Regions from separate parts of the Homo sapiens genome. Here region 1 is linked to region 2. The links are contacts of gene promoters, found by promoter capture Hi-C in blood cells and fetal thymus (Javierre and others, 2016). All regions are on one chromosome and are shown on one strand. Each heading gives the region's core, a stretch centred on a gene start or on the middle of the fragment in contact. The rest is flanking DNA. Distances are from core to core; before and after follow the strand shown. Region 1 overlaps CHD7 (chromodomain helicase DNA binding protein 7). Region 2 holds the start of CHD7 (chromodomain helicase DNA binding protein 7).

Evidence for each region. Contacts are between HindIII fragments. The CHiCAGO score rates a contact against its expected background, and 5 or more counts as called.
Region 1: a contact is called between a fragment that was not itself captured here and the fragment with the promoter of CHD7 in region 2, in 3 of 17 cell types (activated CD4 T cells, naive CD4 T cells and naive CD8 T cells). The highest score is 5.9, in activated CD4 T cells.

Annotation. Positions count from the first base shown.
Region 1 is chr8:60,714,391-60,720,074 of GRCh38, forward strand. The region is part of intron 1 of CHD7 (chromodomain helicase DNA binding protein 7); the gene reads left to right. Among named protein-coding and RNA genes, the nearest start is that of CHD7, 38 kb to the left of the region's middle. The HindIII fragment of the contact is 1,839 bases long and covers 2,316-4,154 here.
Region 2 is chr8:60,674,873-60,680,898 of GRCh38, forward strand. CHD7 (chromodomain helicase DNA binding protein 7) reads left to right here and starts at 3,868. Exons shown (of 38, transcript NM_017780.4): 1 at 3,868-4,210. RefSeq lists silencers at 3,416-3,855, 4,216-4,315, 4,976-5,345. The HindIII fragment of the contact is 9,178 bases long and covers 1,759-6,026 here.

The sequences.
Region 1 (5,684 bases), core at 1,985-4,484, 39 kb after region 2:
GGCGGCCGGGAGAAGGCCCCCCCCCCCCCCCCCCCCCGCCCCGCACACCGCCAGGCCTCTGGACGCTGAGACTGGGAGCGAAGTGGGCAGGAGTCAGCGAGGCCATCTCGCGCCCGTGCGCACCGCTGTAGGGTCATCTCCAGCGCTGGCACCTGGCTCAGCCCTCAGCCCTCCTGGCCCCTGGGCTTCTCGAAATGGCCACACTGCCCCCCACTTCGCGGCCTGGTTCCGCCCTTTCTTGGCCTCAGGTGCTGCACAGGCCACGCCCTCTGTTCCGAGCCCTTCTTGCCACCTGCCCTCCCTCATGGCTCCCGCTCCTCCTCACTCTGGTCGTCTCGGGAGGCCTTCTCTGGATGGAGACCTGGCTAGGTCCCCGTAACTTGACCTCAGCAGCCTGTTTTGCCTTCGTAGCCCACAGCCCACTTGTAATTCTGTGTTCCAGGTCTGCCCAGGGGAAAAGGGGATGGTAATGCCTGTTGCTGACATAGCTCTATCAGAAAGGTGCTCAGCGGCTGAATGAATGAATGAATGCGGTGGAGCATGAGGGCGCAGGCGCCATAGTGGGGAGGGGCAGGAGGGAATATTCTGCCGGCAGCCACAAGAATAGGAAAGAGAAATACTCTGTCCGAATGGTTTGTTTTTTTGTGTTGGTGGGATTGCTCAATGCATGGCTCTTCTTGATCAGTGAGAAATGTGATTGGAGAAAGACATTAGAGTTTTATAGCTGATGTTAAAAAATGAGAGCCGCCACATTGACACTATTTGCTTCCGGAGACCGATGAGAGTGAAGAACTAACAGCTTTGGGCTAAACTTTGGAGTGCATTTTTATTAATAAGGCTAGATGAACCATCGCTGGCTTTCCAGTTGTATGTATCCCTCATAGAATCAGACACCAACTCAGGGAGGGGCCTTTCCAGCACACAGAGGGCTCTGCCTTTTTTTTTTTTTTTTTTTGGGAGTCTTGCTTTGTCGCCCAGGCTGGAGTGCAGTGGCCGATCTCACCTCACTGCAAACTCCGCCTGCTGGGTTCAAGGAATTCTGCATCAGCCTCCGGAGTAGCTGGGATTACAGGCACCTGCCACCACGCCCAGCTAATTTTTGTGTTTTAGTAGAGACAGATTTTCACCATGTTGGCCAGGCTGGTCTCAAACTCCTGATCTCAGGGGATCCGCCTGCCTTGGCCTCCTAAAATGCTGGGATTACAGGCGTGAGCCACCGCGCCCAGCCCCTTCCTCTTTTTGGCTTCCACTTGGCCAAAGGAGCTTCCCTTTGGGGCCGCGTCTGAGTCATGTTAGCCGCTGGTTCAAGGGAGCCATCTGAAACTCCTTGGAGCAGGGTTTCTCCTGTATATGGCAATACTCTACCTTAGAAAAACAAAACAAAACAAAACAAAACGTCAAGTTACATGGTATAATGGAAAAAAACCCTAAACTTGGGCTAGAAAATATAGGCCACTATTTTGTTTCTAATACCACTATGTATATGGACAGAACAGTTAACTGTCCACGCCCTGTGTCTTCCTTCGTGAAAGGTGGTGACACTGTACCTTCACAGCCTACTTCATAGGACTTTGGTGTAAAATGAGACAGCAGATGTTAAAGTACCTTCCGAGACCATTGTTTCCAGAACCTTCATCACATTGTGGTATTAGAAACCTTGGAGTCCTCCTTGACTCTTTCACAAGCTACATTGAATTTGTTCTCAAAGCCTCTGGCTCTGCCTTTAAAGTATATGCAGAGTCTGATACCTTTTCTCTCCACTTCTACCACCCGGGTCCAAGTGGCCTTTTTTCCTTGCCGGTGTTACTGCAGTAGCTCCCCTACTGCTCTCCCTGCTGTTGCCTGTGTTGCCTGCAGTCTTTCCAATGTTAGCAGTCAAAGTCATCTCTCAGAGCCAGAGCTGGATCATGTCCCTCCTCTGCTGAAAGCAGTTCGTGATTCATCCTCTTGAGGCAAAACCTCAGCCCTCACAGAAGTACCCTCTGCTCCAGCCTCCCCCATCCAGAATCTCATGGGACACCACACTTTGTCCTTGCTGTCCTTTAGATGCTCAGGTGCCAGTTCCCCTCTCAGTCTTCCACAGTTGCTCTGATCTCCTCAGACACTGTCAGGGCCTCGTAGGGCCTGCTGGGCTGACTCCTCAGTTCCTTCCCGATCATACATAACTATCTTCCCTGTGAGGCAGTCCCTTACCACCCAATTTAAAATTGCACCTCCTTCCTCCAACCGGTCCCTCTGCTGTGATTTGGTTTTTCTCTCTTACTTTCCTTTTAGTTATTTACTTATTTATTTTGTTTGACTCTCTCCACAAACAAAGCTTAATTAAGCTGCATGAAGGAATCGTTGTCCATAATGTTTACTGATGCATCTCCAGTGCCTAGGACAGTGTTTGACAGATGATAGGTGCACAATACATATTTGTTGCTTAAAATTATATGGGAGCTAATCATTGGAGGGAAAAATGTCTTCGGTTCTCTGTAGCACACTTTTTGGCATAGTATAGCCGATGAAACTTTGTAAGCAAGATAGCAAATATTGTTACACTATAGTGGCTTTCAGAAATTGAAGACAGTGTTTCTCTTTGAGACAGTCCTGATTAGCAAATTACACATTTTTCCCCTCTTGTTACATCTACCTTAAGCCTTTTTTTTTTTTTTTTTCCTGGAGTAATGCATGAATGGTGGTATGTCTTCCCTCAGGTCATTGCATCTGGGTACGTAATGTTCATTTGTCCCGTTTACTGGTGATACGTACTTTGATCACTTGGTAAAGGTGAGTTATTCCATTTGAAAAGAAAATTATTAGAATAACATTAGTTTACTGTCAAGTTGGAATTATAGTGATTTGCTTCCTTGTAAATGAAAGATAGTGTATCATTGTGGTGTTTTCCATTTAGTTATACTTGTTGGCTGCAGAGTAAACACTTTGGTTATTAGACTTAGCAATAACTTTGTGTAGAACTTTTCTGAGGGCACAAAGTTATTTCACATTTTTCATTTCAGAGTATTTCTAGCACTATGTATTTTGTTTATCTAGAGAGAAAGTAACTGTGTTCTTGATATAGGTCAGGCCTTGCAGTGGCACAGTATGTGACCCTAGTTTCTTTACTGTTACTTTCCTTTTGGTCATGCTACAACTCAGGTGGTTATGTAGTTAAACCTTATGGGTGTAGGGGAAGGGCAGGTGGCATGAGCTGAAAAGTGTAAGGTAACTACCCCTGAAAGTTGATTGATTGAAGGTTCATTATACAGTCATGTGCCATATAATGATGTTTTGGTCAGCGATGGGCCACATATACAACAGTGGTCTCATGAGATTATAATGGAGCTGAAAAATTCCATTGTCCACTGACAATTGTAGTCATCATAATGTAGAGCAACACATTACCCATGGGTTTGTGGTGATGGTGGTATAAACAAACCTACTGTATTGCTGGTCTTATAAAAGTACACCATGTAAAATTATGCACAATACATAATATTTGATAATGACAGTAAACTGTGTTACTGGTTCTTGTATTTGCTATACTATACTTTTTATTGTTATTTTGGAGTATACCCCTTCTACCATTTTTTTTTAAATTTAACTGTAAAACATCTTCAGGCAGGTCCTTCAGGGGATATTCCAGAAGGCATTGTTATCATAGGAGATGACAGTTCCATGCCTGTGATGGCCTCCGAAGACCTTCCAGTCTTCAGAGTGGCACAGAATGTGGAGATGGAAGACAGTGATATTGATGATCCCAACCTGTGTAGGTCTAGGCTAATGTGTATGTCTGTCTTAGTTTTTAACAAGAAAGTTTGAAGTTGGTCGCGGTAGCTCACACCTGTAATCCCAGCACTTTGGGAGGCTAAGGTGGGTGGATCACCTGAGGTCAGGAGTTGGAGACCAGCCTGGCCAACATGGCAAAACCCCATCTCTACTAAAAAATACAAAAATTAGCTGGGTGTGGTGGCAGGCGCTAATCTCAGATACTCGGGAGGCTGAGGCAGGAGAATCTCTTGAACCCGGTAGGTGGAGGTTGCAGTGAGCCAAGATTGTGCCATTGCACTCCAGCATGGGAGACAGAGTGAGACTCCATCTCAAAAGAAAAAAAAAAAGAAAGTTTGAAAAGTAAAAAACTAAACTAAATTAAACATTTAAAAATATGAAAAAGCTTTTGGAATAAAGATATAAAGAAAGAAAATACTTTTGTATGGCTGTACAATGTGTTCGTCTTTTAAGTTGTAAAAGTCAAAAGGTTAAAGTCTATAAAATAAAAAAGTTACAGTAAACAGATAAATTTATTGAAGAAAGAAAAATTAATTTTCATAAATTCATTATAGCCTAGGTGTACAATGTTTATAAAGTCTACAGCAGTGTGCAGTAACATCCTAGGCCTTCATATTCATTCACCACTCACTCACTCACTCACTCACCCAGAGCAACTTCTAGTTTACAAGCTCCATTCATGGTAAGTGCCCTATGCAAGTGTATCATTTTTAATCTTTTATATTGTATTTTTGCTGTACCTTTTCTATGCTTAGATACCATTGTGTTGCAGTTGCCTACAGTATTCTGTAACATGCTGCACAGGTTTGCAGCCTAGGAGCAATAGGCTGTATCATGTTGCCTAGGTGTGTAGGAGGCTGTACCATCTTGGTTTGTGTAAGTGCACTCTGTGATGTTTGCACAAAGATAAAATCACTTAGCGACACATTTCTCAGACTGTGTCCTCATCATTAGGTGACACATGACTATGTTTACAGGTAGCCTCTTGCCTTCTAAACTGACACTTGAGTGATGCATGACACTATTTGGATATGGGAAAGGATTTGTCACCCACAGGGTAGGAAACTTTGGAGATTGGCAGACTTCCTTTTTTGATTCAAGTAAGTCTAAATTATGATTTCAGATGAGTAGGCTGAAAATATTTTGTAAAGTTCCAGAGCAGGAATATGAAAAATTTGGACACTTTTCATTTTGAAGTTCCACAATTGTTAGATTTAGATAGATAGATTGATTTTATGTCTTTAAAATATTTGAAACGTGTGGGGGCTCAAAGGTTTATAAACTTTTTTTTCAGAATTTTCTTGAAATGGATATCAGTCTCAGACTGACACATTCTTACATTATTATTATTGATTAAATATGTTAGGGGCTAGTTTGTCTTGCCATGAATTATTAATTGGTCAAACCTTTGTACTGGGCACTCTGGGAGCCCTGGGGTAATAAATAAAGCCCTGGGGTAATAAAAGTGTACAAAGCACATTCTGCACCTGCCCTCAGGGAGCTCCAGCACTGGGGGACCCTCCTCATTCGGCAGGCAGTGAAGCTCAGCTCCAGTGAGCGCTGTGAAGGAGCAGAGAGTCCATTGTGAGATGAGAAAATCCGGCAACCAACTTCTCATCCCCACAGGTCTTCCTGCTTACCTGAAAGGAAACTGAGGCCTTGTGAGGGTTATCAGCTAGCAGAACTTGGATGGACACCAGATCTGTTTGACAAAGGCAAAAAAATCATAATAAATTATTTTTCTAACATCTGGCTGATTGTAAGTATGCTTATTCCAAAATATTCAAGCCATAAAACATGCATGAAGTAGGAAGTGAAAGCCCCCACCCCTGATAAATTCAGGTACATTAATTAATCTTCTAGGTTTTTAATGGGAGAAAGGTTGCAGAGTGTGAGCATATTATAGATACACA
Region 2 (6,026 bases), core at 2,618-5,117:
ACTCGGTTAATTTCTTTGTGTTTTTAGTGAGATGGGTTTTCACCATGTTGGCCAGGCTGGTCTCAAACTCCTGACCTCAGGTGATCCACCCAGTTCAGCTCCCAAAGTGCTGGGATTACAGGCATGAGCCACCGTGCCTGGCCGGCTTTCTTTTATGAAAAAATTACAGGCCGGGCGCGGTGCTCACGCCTGTAATCCCAGCACTTTGGGAGGCCGAGATGGGCGGATCATGAGGTCAGGAGATCGAGACCATCCTGTCTAATGCGGTGAAACCCTGTCTCTATTAAAAATACAAAAAAAAAAAAAAAAAAAAAAATTAGCCGGGCGTGGTGGCAGGTGCCTGTAGTCCCAGCTACTCGGGAGGCTGAGGCAGAAGAATGGTGTGAACCAGGGAGGTGGAACTTGCAGTGAGCTGAGACTTCGCCGCTGCCCCCTCCAGCCTGGGTGACAGAGTGAGACTCCGTCTCAAAAAAAAAAAAAAAAAAAAAAGAAAAAATTACAGAGGAGGATTATGCCATTATCCCAGTGAAGCAGAAAAAGTTTTTTAGACTTTTCTTTTTGCTGCTTTCTTCAGCATTTATACCCCTCTATATATTTATATTTTAATTATTTATGTATCTTCAATGGCAGTAAACCTTCATCATTTAGAGGCAAAATATATTGTTTGGAGCTAGCCAAAGTCATTTGGATGTAAATTTGGTGAATGAAGAAAAATAACAGTTTTTAGTGGGGGAAAAATATGTGGCGCTAAAGAGAGTTATTTTCCAGTACTTGCAAATTGGTTCTGAACACAATTTCAAAAGATGAGTTCCAAAAATATACTGAAGGATGCCCTCAACACTGGAATTAGTGTAATTTACATAATATTTTAAAGTTGGAAACATTTAATATAGATAGGACTTGATTTTTAAGTGTTTGAGAGTTAGAGTGTTTTTTCAGTTATTTTAGATGTGCACATTACCCCCTCACCACAGGTATTATAGGTTGATACATTCTGGGCTATTTTTCCAGAGATATTTATTTGTCTGTGGAATTCAGCATTAAGTCTGAGCTCTTCAAATAGACTGTATCTATTCATGACCTAGGGCCTAGACAACCTTTTTGTAGTGGGTCATATTTTCTTTGGTGTTTTTCTCAACTGCTTTCTGCTTGGCCCGCTCCATTCTTCAATGCCCTCCTTCCCAGGTCCTTAGTACCTTTCCACTGTCCTCTGGCTACACGGAACTCAGGTCTGTCCTATTCCTCCAGGGCTCAGACTCCAAAATTAACATTCTCCCTTATCACCAGATCAAAACTACCAATCCACTAGATTGTAAACTCCATGAGGGCAGGACGTTTTGTCTGTTTTGTTCACTACTATATCTCCAGTACCTAGAACCAATCCTGGAAACTCTTAGGCACTCGAAGTTGAATGAATGGCTAAGTCTCTAAATTTGTTACTCTGGCTAGCTGTTGGGAGGAAAGCAACCCATTGAACCAATTTACACTCATCTGTGAAAGACCAGTAGCCCCTTATCTCACCCTAAGGTATTTGCATACTTAAAGAGAAAGCTTGTGAATTCAAATTACTCTCATTGGGAAAACTTCAATAGTGAAGCAAATGGAGAAAAAACATTTCAGGCTAAAGGGGAGTGTTGGGGGATGGTGGTGGTGTGGTGAGAGCTATGACTCAGGTAGGCCAGATCTGCCTAGGAGTTTGCCCCTGAGGGCCTCTACTTTTTAAGGCCCCTTACGTTCCACACCACCACAACATCTAAAAGCTTAGAGACTTCTTCATGATGGCTCAGGGCAGTGATCAGGATAAGGAGACTATAAGTCAGAGGACTTATATTCTGTAGGACTGTTTTTACATTGGGTACTGGTATATATCAAAAGGAAGTTTCCTAGCTTTCGAGTTAAATGTACAAGAGCACAGGGAATCTCCTCATAGTCATATTTGTTGATAACAAGTTAATTGCAATATTGTAATTTCACTATATGTAGATGTCATTTTTTTTCTCCTGTGAATTGCCTTGAAATAGATGCACATCTGATATCGAGCTGTGGCACACTGTAAAAGATAAGACATAATTTTTTATGGCACATTATTTTAAAAATGTGTTCTAATATAGTCAGGTACTAGCGATTTTTTTTCTAGACATTGTGTCCTGTTTTTGACCCCCCCGCCCCACACACCCCTAAAGCACCTTTCATATACTTTCATTGGGAAATATAAACTTAATGGAAACAGTAGCCTAACCTCAGAGTTGTGATTCTTGGTTTGTGATACCGGGTTTAAAACAGATGGAAGTTGATTTTAGTGGTTTCAACTTTTTAAATGCCAGAATTCTTTCTGTACTGTCTTCTATGTTCTTTTTGATGATCTGTAAGCTCCTTAAACATTAAAACATTTATTTCTTTTAGAACAAAACTCAAATACATGATGAAAGCAAGCTAAAAGCAGTGCATTTAACAAACCACAATATAATGTGATATATTTATAGAATTATTACTAAAATCAGAAAATCAATGTCTTAGTGATTAAGTCTAGGATAATCAAACTTATTGAATAGTTGCAGTAGTTACTTAATGAGATAGTTTTGATTAATCTTTTGTCCAAATAACAATATTGTGATTACAGGCTTAGCACTACAGGTAGTGTAACCATCAGTGAGTGAGATTAGTACATTTTACATAGTTTTGCTATTTTCTCAGTTTATTTTGGAGTCCAGTAATAACCAGTCAGTCTGTACCTGCCATAGGGCAATCTTTGGTTGATATGAGTTCCTTTCCTGATTTTAAAATAAGTGCAATCTTTAACCTAATAAAATTATCTTAAAGTTTACAATTGATGGTTTAAACACATTATAATTGCTCCGTATTTTGCAGATAGAAGAGGCTTAATCCATGTTTGTAGATCTATTTCCTAAAATAAAAATTAGTAAAAAAAAGTTTTTTTTCTTCAGGTTTAACATTCATTTTGTACCGGGAAGAGAAATGGAATAAGAGGCTCGGATTTTTAAGACTATGCAATCAGATACAAGTGCCATTTTGGCCAAAGAATGAGTAAAACATTCTAGTCCCGACACGTTTAATAATGGGCATACATCCTATTTCTTTGTTTCATAATCATTGAGCTCTCTGCCTTCTCTCTCTTTTTTGGTATGGTAACAAATTCGACAAAATCAATGCCATCTAGTTAAACTTTTTGATTAAGTAGTGGATCCGGTGTCCTATCCACGAAGAGGTGGGAAAAGCGATGTGGAGAAGCAGGCACGAACCCATCTGGAATGGAACATGTCCCTTCCGAATAATTTCATGTGGGAAAATAATTTCAAGTTGAAGGATAATTACTGCAGAGACTGCCAGTCACCCCCGGCCGCCGCCGGCCGCGCAGCGTCGGAAACCCTTCGCGGCAGCCAGGAGGGTCGCAGCCCTCCCGGAGCCCCGCTTCCTGCCCCGGGGCGGCGCACCCGGCTCCGGGAAGGTGCCGCGCGGGAGACGTGGCAGCAGCCCCTCCAGTCCGCGCCCGGGCGCAGCGGCCGAGCGCTCCGTGCAGCCGGGCAAGGAAGACTCCGCGGCAGCAGCGCACCGGCCGGCGGGGAGACCCGCCTGAAGCGCCGGCGCCCGCCAGGGGACGGGAAGTGGCGCCCGGCCCGCCCTTGCGGCCCGCGGCCCGCGGCCCAGCAGCTCCGCGCCGCCCCTTTTCTCTCGGCCTCTCCCTCGGCCTCCGCCACCCCGGCCGAATTCTTGCATAAATTATGCCAGGCGCGCCTGACGTCAGGTGGCGGCGCGCGGGCGCGGGCGCGGGCGCGGCGCGGCCCGGAGGGAGCTGGCGGCGGGCGCGCGCGGCCCCGCGGCTTCGGGTGCGCGCGGCGTGCCGGACGCGCGCAGGCGCTGGCGTGCTGGGGCCGCGGCGGCGGCGGCGGCGGCGGCGGCAGCGGCGGCGGCGGCGGCGGCGCGGGGGTTGAGTCGTGGTGGTGCGGACGCGCTCGTGCTCGGGAACTATCGGATTAAACTTGAATCGAGTGAAATTACACAAAGGAGCGCCGCGGAGGAGGCGGCCCGGGGACCCGGACACCCTGAAACTCACCAGAGACCCGTTCGCCCCCGGCCAACTCCGTGCCCGTGGATTCAGCCCCCTGGCCGCAGCTGCCGAGCCAACTCCGGAGCCCGCTCTGCGTTTTGTTTTCCCCTCGGCACTAGGCAGCGGAGGAGCCCGACCGACCCGGTGAGCGCGAGAGTTCGCCCGGCGCCCCCGGGAGGGGCGGCGGCGGCGGCGGCGGCAGGAAATCGCTCCGGGCCGGGGCCGGGGCCGCGCTAGGAGTTGGGAGCGAGGAGTTGGGCGTGTGCGGGGCGAGGGGCGAGGGGCGAGGGCGGGAGGGGGCCGGGGCCAGCGCAGGAGCGCAGCGCCGCCCGCGTAGTGTCGCCGGCGTCGCCGCCCGCGGGGCCCGAACCCGCGCCCCGAGCGCCGCCCGGCGCCCCAACTTTTGCCTGCGTCCGCCGGGCCGGCGGCGGCGGGGGCGCGCGGTGCGGCCGAGGGTCACTTCCTCGCATGTAAATGGCTTTTTGTTGTGCTGCCGGCGTGGGGGGGGGGTACGGGGGACAGGAGGGAGCGTGTCTGCGCGCGGGGGAGCGCGAGCGCGTTTCCTCCCGCCGGCGCCGAGCACGAGTTGCCGGCTCCATTCGAGAGAAAAAGGAAGGAGGAAAAGTTGGGCTCCAACTCAAGTGCGAGCGGGCGATGGGCGCGCGGGCGCGGGGCGGCTGAGCAGCGGCGGCGGCGGCTCGGGGACGGCGGCGACCCCCGCCTCCCGCCCCCGCCCCCCGCTCCGGACCGACCACGCCGCGCTCGCCGGGAGCTGCGGCCGCACCGGCGCGAACAAAGTGCGTTCCTCCCGGCGCGGCGGCGCCAGCCCGCGCGGGGACCGCCACCGAGCGAGGTGGGTCGGCGGCGGGGAAAGTGCGCGGGGCGCCGCGTGGGGCGGGGGCAGCGCGAACACGCGGCGCGGGAGGCGTCCCGAGCTCAGCCAGTGCCGGTCGCGGGCGCGGAGTTGCGAGCCCGGAGTTGGGGGCTCCTGGGGCTCCCCGGCGGCTCCCAAGTGCGCTAGGAGGAGAAGAAAGGGAGCGGGGCCGGGGCGAGCGCCGGGAGGCGCGGCGAGGAGGGGACCCCACCTTGTCGAGCTGGCCGGGCCGCCGGCGGCGGCAGCTGCATAATAGCGACTTTAACCTTCCAACGCAACTCGGCTCCCCCGCCCCCCAACCCGCCGGGGGTCAGCGCCGGTGGGGGGTGGTCACCAGGTGGCCCCCGAGGTGACCCGGGTGCGCTCTGCCCTCGCAGAGAGCCGCGGCTTGGAGCGTGAACGGCCGAGGTGGCTGGAGGCCAAGCGGTCAGCGGGGAGAGGAAAGGAGGGCGGTGGGGGACGCGTTGTTTGTTTGGTTCGCACCGGGGATTGGGCTCGCTGGGGGCGCGGGGCTCGGGCGGGGGCGCGGGCACCGGCTGGGCTGCGGTGCGGGGCGGGCGCGGCGGCGCGGGGCTGTCGAGGTCGCGGGGGGGGGGGGCGGGGGCGGCGGCGGCGGCGGCTCCCGGGCGGGGGTGGGGGCGCTGGTCGGGAGGCTCTGGGGAAGGAGCCGCCGGCCCCGAGCAGCCATCATTACCGAGCCGCCTTTCTCCGGATGGCTCTGCCTCGAGGAGCCCGGAGCCGTGGGAGCGCACCCCAAACTCCCGGCCGGCCGCCCGCTTTGTGAGCGCCCCCGTGAAGCGAGCGGCGCGGAGAGTGCTCCTGCTATGGGTCGGACTCTTTTCCTGGAGGTCACTTTTAGAGACTGCTCACGCCTTGGTTTAAACTAGTTTTTTTCCCCCTCTTCTGAACAGACAATGGACAAAAGAAAAGTAGCAACCCACATGGAGAGAGTTTCCTTTTGAATTGCTAGAATTAGATACACTATCCAGCGCTCCACTTGCTAAGTATACTTTTTAGTTTCCCATTGTATATTATCTAGCAATCGATTTAAATAACTTATCTTAAAAAGTGTCCCTTTTGGGGGCT